Linked DNA regions of Homo sapiens: regions 2 and 3 are each linked to region 1. Evidence: promoter capture Hi-C in 16 types of primary human blood cells and fetal thymus (Javierre and others, 2016). All regions are on one chromosome and are shown on one strand. The core of a region is centred on a gene start or on the middle of the fragment in contact, and the rest is flanking DNA. Distances in the headings are between cores, read along the strand shown.

The links. Contacts are between HindIII fragments. The CHiCAGO score rates a contact against its expected background, and 5 or more counts as called.
Region 2: a contact is called between a fragment that was not itself captured here and the fragment with the promoter of ABCC1 in region 1, in 1 of 17 cell types (megakaryocytes). The highest score is 5.4, in megakaryocytes.
Region 3: a fragment that was not itself captured here is called in contact with the fragment with the promoter of ABCC1 in region 1 in 1 of 17 cell types (megakaryocytes); the score reaches 5.4 in megakaryocytes.

Annotation. Positions count from the first base shown.
Region 1 is chr16:15,948,366-15,951,757 of GRCh38, reverse strand. ABCC1 (ATP binding cassette subfamily C member 1 (ABCC1 blood group)) reads right to left here and starts at 2,142. Exons shown (of 31, transcript NM_004996.4): 1 at 1,959-2,142. The coding sequence starts at 2,006. It overlaps LOC107984869 (a long non-coding RNA gene), which reads left to right and starts at 2,587. Exons shown (of 3, transcript XR_001752339.2): 1 at 2,587-2,967. The HindIII fragment of the contact is 23,517 bases long and covers 1-3,392 here.
Region 2 is chr16:16,188,072-16,191,463 of GRCh38, reverse strand. ABCC6 (ATP binding cassette subfamily C member 6) reads left to right here. Exons shown (of 31, transcript NM_001171.6): 12 at 1,097-1,300; 13 at 2,490-2,633. Among named protein-coding and RNA genes, the nearest start is that of ABCC6, 34 kb to the left of the region's middle. The HindIII fragment of the contact is 4,585 bases long and covers 1-3,392 here.
Region 3 is chr16:15,809,857-15,813,248 of GRCh38, reverse strand. The region is part of intron 3 of MYH11 (myosin heavy chain 11); the gene reads left to right. Among named protein-coding and RNA genes, the nearest start is that of MYH11, 45 kb to the left of the region's middle. The HindIII fragment of the contact is 584 bases long and covers 1,486-2,069 here.

The DNA of each region.
Region 1 (3,392 bases), core at 893-3,392:
AGATCGTGCCACTGCACTCCAGCCTGGGTGACAGAGCAAGACTCTGTCTCAAAAAAGAAAAAGAAAAAAAAAAGAAAAGAAAAAAGCAACAACTACCTACTTTCTAGCTTTCAGTTAATTATATTTCAATTTTCCCACTCAGGCCCCAGTTGCCTCCTCTCAAATTCTGGTTCCAAGGCACCTCCAACAAGTCTTGGAATCCAGACAGCAGAAATACGCAAGGTCAAACACGGGGATGGGGTACCTACCAGAGGCAGAGATCAGCTACAATTACCCCCAAGCAAAACCCAACCACCTGGCAATTTCTGTGGCAGAAAGTCCTTAACGAAGGAAAAAATAAAAAGAAAAAAGAAAATAAAAATTTTAAAAAATATTACAACTGGACTTCGTGAATGAGTTTCTTAAGATAAACAAAGCGCACCCCAAACATACTCATTAGCCATCAACTACCAATTGCCATCAATAAAATACGTCCTGATACAAAACCTCATGGATGTTCACCCTGTTTTGCCCCCTCCTCAATTCAGAAGAAAATAAACAAGAGAATATTCTGGAATTCACAGCAACACAAACCCAGATCACCATGTGAATCTTTGCAAAAAATAATCTTGCTGTTACTACACCTGGCAACAAGGAAGCCACAGGTTTTCCCCTGCTAAAGAAAGTCCATCTGCAAAGAGGCTCCAATCACCCCCAGACCCTCAAGGCAAAGTCTGTGTTCTATTTCCACCCCTGGGGTTACTCTCCAACCCCACTGGCTTAAAATGGGAGATATATCAAAGTGTGGTAGGTTATTAAACACAATGATACCCTACTAAAAAAAACAAACAAACAAAACCAAACCCTCCAATGGGGCCCTGGAGGATGACTTTTCAACACTCCAAATGCAACCCTCGAGGAAAGGCCGGCAAAACAGGACAAGAAAGTATTTTTGGAAGCTGATCACCAGCTCCTAAGAACCAAGGCTGTTTCTCCTGATTCCTAAACAAAAGAGGAGAGAGAAACAGTCGTGTCCAGATTTGCCTACTGCGTTCACCAACAATCAAGACAGCACGAGACAGAAGTGCCTGCCTTCCTGGAACAAAGAGGCAAATCGCATTACGGAGAAGCTGAAGCCCAAAAGACTGGGGCTTAAACCACAGCAAGTGGACTCCAGACACCCAGTCAGGCTCCGCAGGCCACGTTACAGAAGAAAACTTGCCGGGGTTAAATCTAAGGGGCATCCCCAGAGAGGAGCTCCACGTGTTGCAGGGAAGGGAGGGCAGGACCACAGCTACCAGGGTCCTGGGCGTCCTCAGCTGCACCCCAAGTCTGCCCCGAGCCGAGGGTCAGGTAGGGCACATCAAGGGTGGACATCCCCCTTCTTCCCTGGTTCCCCCAAACTTCCCCCGCAGTATCTAAGTAGAAAGAACAAAAAAAACAAAGCTAGGTAACCACAGAAGAGTAATGTGGCTTGTACGACAACTTTGGGGAGACAATGAAAGTCCCTTTCTACAATCTAAGCCCCTCCCCAGCTCACCCCGTTGGTCACGGAGTATTTTTCGTGAAAAGGGGGGACCCTAACCACAAAAAAGATGGGAAAACAGAAGCAGAGAGACACCCCTCTTCCCGCCCCCCATCTCTAGCGTCCCCTTCCCTGGAAGGTTGTTTTTACAGACGGGAACCCCAAAACAGGAAGGCCTCCTCACGGCGGCTCTGACCCGACCCGACCCTCCAAAACCCCAGGGCTGGGCACGCGGCCCCCCACGCTCTGCTCCGCAGGAACTGAGTCACCCAAGTTTCCCCCATGCCTTGCACCCCCGAAAGGGGCTGGGCCGCGGGCGACGTGAGGGTCCCGGGCCCCCGAGGCCGGCAGCAGAGCGGGGAGCGGGGTGCCCCGGGCGGCTGCGGGCCCGGTGCTTTCCCTCCCCGCCGGCCTCCCTCCGTCCCGCCGGCCTCACGCGGCCCCCGGCACGTACCCAGAGCGGGTCGGAGCCATCGGCGCTGCAGAAGCCCCGGAGCGCCATGCCGGTGGCGCGGGCGGCGGCGGGCACCGGGCGGCGGGTGATCGGGCCCGGTTGCTGGCGCGGGCGGCGGCGGGCACCGGGCGGCGGGTGATCGGGCCCGGCTGCTGGCGCTAGCGCTGGCGGCGGCGGCGGCGGCGGCGCAGGGAGCCGGGGCCGGGGCCGCAACGCCGCCTGGTTGGCCCGCGCGTCACGGGGATGCGGCGGCCCCGCCCCACCCCGCCCCGCCCCGGCGCCCGCTCACCTCGCGCGTCTCGGCGTGGGCAGCCGGACCAGCCACCTCTCGGCGCCCCGGGCCTGGACCCCGCGCCACCCCCACCCCAGATCCTCCAAGGCTTAGGCCCACCCGCTCGCGGACGGGCCTGGGGAGCGTTGGCTCGCCTTCCGGAAGCGCCTGGGATCTTTGGGGCCACACACCCTGCGACCACTTTTCAAATGCTGTTTAAGGACAGTATCCGTCACCAGGGGAAAATAACGTGAACGGAGCCCCCTACCTGCCTGGAGTGTACCGGGCGCCTTAACTGTGCCCTCATTTCATCCTGTAAAGTCTCCACGTTCATGAAGGAAGAAACCCAGGTGCAGAGAGGTTGAGTGATTCCCTCTGCCCAGGGTCACCTGGCTAATCACTTGCAGGGCTGGGATTTGAACCCGGTCCGCTGACTCCAAAGCTGAGTCACACAGAAGGAGGTGAATACTGTTATTCACCTACCTTTTACAGATGGGGAAACTGAGGTTCAGAAAGGCGAAGTGACTTGCCCGAGGTCACACAGTTAATAAGGAGTGAAAGTGGAAGTGAGATTCAAACCCGTGAGCAGCCTGATTCCGGAGCACTGATGACCCAGACGGCGCCAGTCTCCATCACTAACAGCTGTTGACCTCACCTGTGTGCAGAGCGCCTTTGCTTCTTCTCAACCTCTTTAAGCATCACTTAGAAATAACCAGGTTATTGATCCTCACCTCAGAGGTAAGGAAACTGAAGCCTGGAGACATGATAATCGTAGGCCAGGCATGGTGGCTCGTGCTTGTAATCAAGCACTTTGGGAAGCCGAGGCGGGCCGATCACATAAGGTCAGGAGTTCAAGACCAGCCTAGCCAACATAGCAAAACCCTGTCTCTACTAAAAACACAAAAATTAGCCGGGCATGGTGGCGGGCACCTGTAGTCCCAGCTACTTGAGAAGCTGAAACAGGAGAATCACTTGAACCTGGGAGGCGGAGGTTGAAATGAGCTTAGATCACACCACTGCACTCCAGCCTGGGCAACAGAGCAAGACTCTGTCTCAAAAAATAATAATAAAAAAAATTAATATGCATTCACAGTGACAAGGCTTCCTAAGGCTGTGTTCTTAGCAATTTACACAAATTAACTTGTGCAATCCTCACAACCCCA
Region 2 (3,392 bases), core at 580-3,079, 240 kb before region 1:
CTCCTCTAAAACATTCTAGGCTGGGCACAGTGGCTGACACCTGTAATCCCAGCACTTTGGGAGGCCACACCTGTAATCCCAGCACTTTGGGAGGCCGAGGCAGGCAGATCACCTGAGGTCAGGAGTTCAAAACCAGCCTGGCCAACATGGCATAACCCTGCCTCCACAAAAAATACAAAATTTAGCCGGGCGTGGTGGCGGGCGCCTGTAATCCCAGCTACTCGGGAAGCTCAGGCAGGAGAATCGCTTGAACCCAGGAGGCGGAGGTTACAGTGAGCCGAGACCACACCACTGCACTCCAGCCTGGGCGACAGAGGAAGACTCGGTCTCAAAAAGTAAAACCTTCTCCAGGCAGCTGCCCCTCTGATGATGCCCCCCGCCCCATGGTGAAGCACAGGAGACCCTGAATTCTTCTGCCTGACTTTAAAGTGCCAAGTGACCCTGCCCACACGCTCCTCTGGTCACACTGAGTGTCCTCTGAGTCATGCTATTCCCTGTGCCTGGGTTTTAGGTGCCCCCGCCACCCCCCTACCCCCCAGCCCCCACCCCCCACCCCCATCTCAAGCCCCTCCCCTCCCTCTTCTCCAGCTCCATCCCCCCATCCTCTGCCTGCTCAGCACGCACTTCCTGGTCATTTAAGATTTAGCTCAGGCTGTAATCCCAGCATTTTAGGAGGCTGAGGGCAGAGGATCACTTGAGCCCAGGAGCTCGAGGCCAACCTGGGCAACATAGTGAGACCCCAACTCCACAAAAAATGTAAAAGGTAAAAAAAAAAAAAGACGTAGCTCAGGCATCAACCACCTCCAGGTAGCCTTCCTGATGGTGTCATACCCAGGTGGGCTCAGGCTGCCTCTGTTCTCCGGGCATCAGAGGCTTCCTCCATGGGGCACATTATCCCAGGGGCACTCCTGCAGAAGTCCAGGTACAGGATGATGGTGGTTGGACCAGGAGTGAGGGTCAGAGGTGCTGAGAGGCAGACAGGTTTGGGACGCAGTTTGGTGAGATGAATGGGATTTGCTGAAGGGTGGCTGTCAGGGTGCAGGGAAGAGTTCTCAACTGTCCCTGTCTTCATCTCTCTTTTTCCCTCCGATCCCAGGAGGAGCAAATGAGGCAGAAGGACTCACGGGCACGGCTCACCAGCTCTATCCTCAGGAACTCGAAGACCATCAAGTTCCATGGCTGGGAGGGAGCCTTTCTGGACAGAGTCCTGGGCATCCGAGGCCAGGAGCTGGGCGCCTTGCGGACCTCCGGCCTCCTCTTCTCTGTGTCGCTGGTGTCCTTCCAAGTGTCTACATTTCTGGTGACGTCACTCTAGTCTCTATGCTGAGCAGCACTGGGGAAGGAGTGCGGGGGTGGGGGCAGGGTGAGGTAGGTGGAGCCCCCCAGATCCTACCACCCCGTCCATCAAAACCCACTCATTCTGGATCCTGTTCTCTCTGGGTCCCTGCTGTCTTCTACAAGAACTAATTAATCATATTATTCTAGCAAAGGTGGCAGTGGCTGATAAAGTCTGCTGAACTCTCAGAGAGAGTTCCAGGCTTCTACCGATGTGGGGAGGAGGGTACAGATGCAGGGGGGTGGCAGAGGTAGAATCCTGGGTCAGAGTGACTTCCCTGATCCTGGCCAGCAGATGTCCATAGCCACCCTGTCACTGGACGTGATCCTTGTCCTGCCATTCTGTAATTTATTTCATATTGCTGTCAGAACAACCTTCCTAAACCACAGTTTTAAAAAATTTGATACGTAGGCTGGGTGTGGTGGCTCATGCCTGTCGTCCCAATACTTTGGGAGGCCGAGGTGGGTGGATCACCTGAGGTCAGGAGTTCAAGACCAGCCTGGCCAACATGGCGAAACCCTGTCTCTACTAAAAATACAAAAATTAGCTGGTTGCAGTGGCGGGCGCCTGTAATCCCAGCTACTTGGGAGTCTGAGGCAGGAGAATCACTTGAACCCAGGAGGCAGAGGTTGCAGTGAGCCGAGATCATGCCACTGTACTCCAGCCTGGGCGACAGAGCAAGACTTCATCTCAAAAAAAAAAAAAAAAGCACCACAAATGGCACCAACACCTAGAGCCCTCAAGTGCTGCTCCTGCCTGCAACTTTAGAGTCATCTTCCAAGGGACTCTAGAATCACAAGTTCCACCACGTCTAGAACAACAGGGCTACCAAGATCAAAAACTCTGCTGTCCCCCGATGCCTGGAACCTAGAGGCATTAGGTTCTCCCCTAGGTTCTAGTGATGCCTAGAGCCGTGGGGCTGCGCACTCATCACCATTAGCAATGCGCTGTGTCTTTAGAGAGAGCCTTATGTAGCTTATGACTGCGGAGAGGACATGTGTTAGCAGGACTGGGAGTGGGATCTACGGAGGGAAGCACATGCGGACATGGCGGGTGGGCCACATGGACCGTGCAGGCACCACAGCTTGCCCAGGCTGCCCTATCCATGCTTGCGTGTCTCACTGTTGCCCCACGTGTCCCCCCCACCCCCCAGGTCGCACTGGTGGTGTTTGCTGTCCACACTCTGGTGGCCGAGAATGCTATGAATGCAGAGAAAGCCTTTGTGACTCTCACAGTTCTCAACATCCTCAACAAGGCCCAGGCTTTCCTGCCCTTCTCCATCCACTCCCTCGTCCAGGTGAGGTGGGTGCAAGGGCTGGAGCCATCCTGGGAGAGTGCGTGGGCTACACCTGGCTCCAGCTTCCCTACCCCTGCCATTTGCAGAGGAGAGGGAAGACAGAGTGGGAGGGAGAGGGATGGTGTGGAGCTGGAAAAGAGGCGGGTAGGGGCAAGAACAGAGGCGGGCAGAGAGTACAGCAAATACATCTGGAAGGGGTCAGCCTTTGGAGGGCAATGTGCAGACCTTTCCACACACACCTCAGAACATGCATACTTGTCCATCTGCCCAGCAATTCCACATACAAGCAATCATGTCAGTTCCCTTTTTTATACAAAGCGATTTTGTTTCTCTTCCTTTGCTATCTCTAGTCCTTTCAGCATGGTGAAAACAAGAAACGGCGGCATACCTGAGCCATCTCCATGTTTTTTATTTTTTATTTTTATTTATTTATTTATTTGAGATGGAGTCTCACTCTGTCACCCAGGCTGGAGTGCAGTGGTGCAATCTCGGCTCACTGCAAGATCTACCTCGCAGATTCAAGTGATTCTCCTGCCCCAGCCTGCCAAGTAGCTGGGACCACAGGCATGCACAACCATGCCCAGCTAATTTTTTTTTTTTTTTTTGTATTTTTAGTAGAGATGAGATTTCACCATGTTGGCCAGGCAGGTCTTGAACCGCTGACCTCAGGTGATCTGCCCACCTTGGCCTCCCAAAGTGCTGATTACAGACATGAGCCACTGCACCCAGTCTTATTTATTTATTTATTGTGTTTTTAGT
Region 3 (3,392 bases), core at 528-3,027, 140 kb after region 1:
CCCAAGTAGCTGAGACTACAGAGATGTACCACCATGCTCAGCTAATTAAAAAAAAACAACTGTTTTTTGTTTGTTTGTTTTGAGACAGAGTTTCACCCCTGTCACCCAGGCTGGAGTGCAATGGCACGATCTCAGCTCACTGCAACCTCCACCTCCTGGGTTCAAGTGATTCTCCTGCCTCAGCCTCCTGAGTAGCTGGGATTACAGGCACATGCCACCATGCCCAGCTAATTTTTGTACTTTTAGTAGAGATGGTGTTTCACCGTGTTGACCAGACTGGTCTTGAACTCCTGACCTCAGGTGATCCACCCACCTTGGCCTTCCAAAGTGCTGGGATTACAGGCATGAGCCACCGTGCCCAGTCTTTTTTATTTTTGAGACAGGTTCTCACTTTGTCACCCAGGCTAGAGTGCAGTGGCACAAACACGGCTCACTGCAGGCTTGACCTCCTAGGCTCCAGTGATCTTCTCACCTCAGCTCCCCAAGTAGCTGGGACTGCAGCCATGCACCACCACACCCGGCTAATTTTTGTATTTTTTGTGGAGACGGGATTTCACCATGTTGCCCAGGCTGGTCTTGAACTCCTGAGCTCAAGTGATCCACCTGCCTAGGCTTCTCAAAGTGCTGGGATTACAGGTGTGAGCCCACTGTGCCTAGTGAAAAAACTTTTTTTTTTTTTTTTTTTTTTTTTTTTTTTAGAGATAAGATCTTACTGTGTTGCCCAGGCTGGTCTCTCATTCCTGGCCTCAAGTGATCCTCCTGCCTTGACCTCCCAAAGTGCTGGGATTATGGGTATGAGCCACCGTGCCCAGCCTAAAGTTGCTATTTTTCCCATGATGTTTATCTTCGTGGTGCTTATGAAATGGCAACTATGGCATTCTTCCTTCTCGTGCATGCCTGTGTGGGTGTGCCCTCAGCATATGCTTACAAGGTTTATTGGGTGATCCAACGCTAGCCGCAAGAGCTATTATTAGCTCCCTTTTACAGCTGGGAAAACAGACTCAGAGGAGTGGAGAACTTGCTGCAGATTTGTTAAGTGTCAGAGCCAAATATACACTTGGATTATCCTGACTCCAAAGCCGGAGCCCTGCTGGTCAGTCGGTGACACCGGGCAACCACAGGGATCCCCCTCAATCCCACGGAAGGCTGTCTACTGTCTTCATCTCAGAGTGTTGACAGCTCAAAGCTTAGGAGGCTGGAGCTAAGTTCAATAAATGAACGTGATGAATAGGAGAAAAGCGCCATTAAAGCCCTCCAGACAAGAACCACTTTGGAGCCCCTCCATGGGTCCCTGGGGTGTAGGAGGGGCAGGAAAGCAGATAAGATTCCATTCTGAGCCTCTGCACTTGCCCTATGCAAGATAGCCACAAGTAATGTTTTGTCCTCACCTCATTAGCAACAAATGGCCACACTCAGGGGATTAAAAAAAGAAATAACAGCCAGCCTTTATCAGCTTGGGGCTCTTGGCTAATTCCTCTTTAAGCTTAAGACAACTCTGCGGGTGGAGTGATCCAAACGACTTTCTCCACTTTGCAAGTTCCCACACTCGGCTGTATCCTTCTGCTTGAGATTGGCAGCCCCCTGGGGATGGTTCCTGCTCACCCAACTCCCCTGAGGCTGCTCCCCAGTAGAGGCAGAGAGAGGAAGGGCACTGATGTCCTCAGGGCCCCTGCAATAGGTCAGGACCTGGGTTCACTGCTCCATCAATCCCACATTGCTCGGCCCTCACTAGCACCACACAGGGTGGGTGGCAGCCTCCCCATTTGATCAATGGGGAAAACTCAGCACACCTACTTGGCCCCAGAACTGAGAGTCAAACCTGGGGACCCAGCTTCGCTGCCCTCAGAATGTTACTCTTCCCTCCTGGGTAGCGTGGTATAGATAGTGTAGTATTCTTGTCCCCATATAACGGAAGAGGAAACTGAGGCCCCCAGAAGGCTAAGGGACTAGCATAGGCCTTGTGTCTTAGCCTGTTAAGGCTGCTATATCAAAATACCATAGACTGGGTGGCTTTTAAACAGATATTTGTTTCTCGTGGTTCTGGAGGCTGGGAAGTCCAAGATCAAGCTTGGTATCTGGTGAGGGCCTAGTGCTGCCTTCTCGCTGTGTCTCACATGGTGGAAGGGACCTGCTAGCTCTCTGGGTCTCTCCCCCAATGAGGATTGAACCCCCATGATCTCATCACCTCCCAAAGGCCCCACCTCCTAATATCATCACTTTAGGGGTAAGGATTCCAGCATATGAATTTGAGGGAGACATGAGCATTCAGACCATGACACCTTGTAATCAGAAAGGGGTTAAATATCTTTGGTTGAATATCCTGTCCTGCCGATTCAGAATCACTGCTGTCTATAACCTCTTCCCTAGATCACTGTTTTAGATGATGATGATAAAGATGATATTAACGGCAATTACCAAGCTCTTAAATGTGCTGTGGGTAAAACAATTTTAAGCTCTTTCTGAATCCAGTCTCTTTCAATCATCTTCATGCCCTTGAAAGGTCTGGATTTTTGTCGATTTCCCTGGTGAGGAAACGGGCCCTGGGGGCAGAGGTGATAGGGTGGAGCCAAGAAGTAATTCCCAGCTGTTTCTCTGCAGAGGCAGTGCTGCTACAAACACATCTCCAGGAAGGGGTACAGCCAAATGCTTCTCTGTCTCTTGTGGGTTTTGCAGTGGCTGTCAGCTATGTGTCTGGCCCGGTTGGGAATGATGGGGGACTGTGTGTGGGAATGAATGGCTCTGTCTGGCTGGCTCAGTCTTTACAGAGGTGCTAGGAGTGTCTGTTTGGTGCTCTGACTAATCATGAAAAGTTCACGTTTTTATCTTTATTTTATTTTTATTTTTGGTACCCATGGTGCATTACAGGGAAGGGAGACAGCAAAGGAGAATTATTTGTTATAAAATAGTAAATATTGGCCAGGCACAGTGGTTCACACCTGTAATCTCAGCACTTTGGGAGGCAGAGGCAGGCAGATCATCTGAGGTCAGGAGTTCGAGACCAGCCTGGCCAATGTAGTGAAACCCCATCTCTACTAAAAATACAAAAAATTAGCCAGGCATGGTGGTGGGCGACTATAATCCCAGCTACTCGGGAGGCTGAGGCAGGAGAATCGCTTGAACCTGGGAGGTAGAGGTTGCAGTGAGCCGAGATTGCCCCACTGCACTCCAGCCTGGGCAACAAGAGCAAAACTCCGTCTCAAAAAAAAACAAAAACAAAAACAAAAACCGTAAATATTAAATTGAAAAAGGGACATACTTAAGGGAGTGAACCTGAAAAGCCCCAGCTGACACTTGGCAACACCTTCCTTGTTTGTTTTGGGCTTTTTTGAGACAGAGTCTCACTCTGTTGCCCAGGCTGGAGTGTAGTGGTGTGATCTCGGCTCACCTGAGCC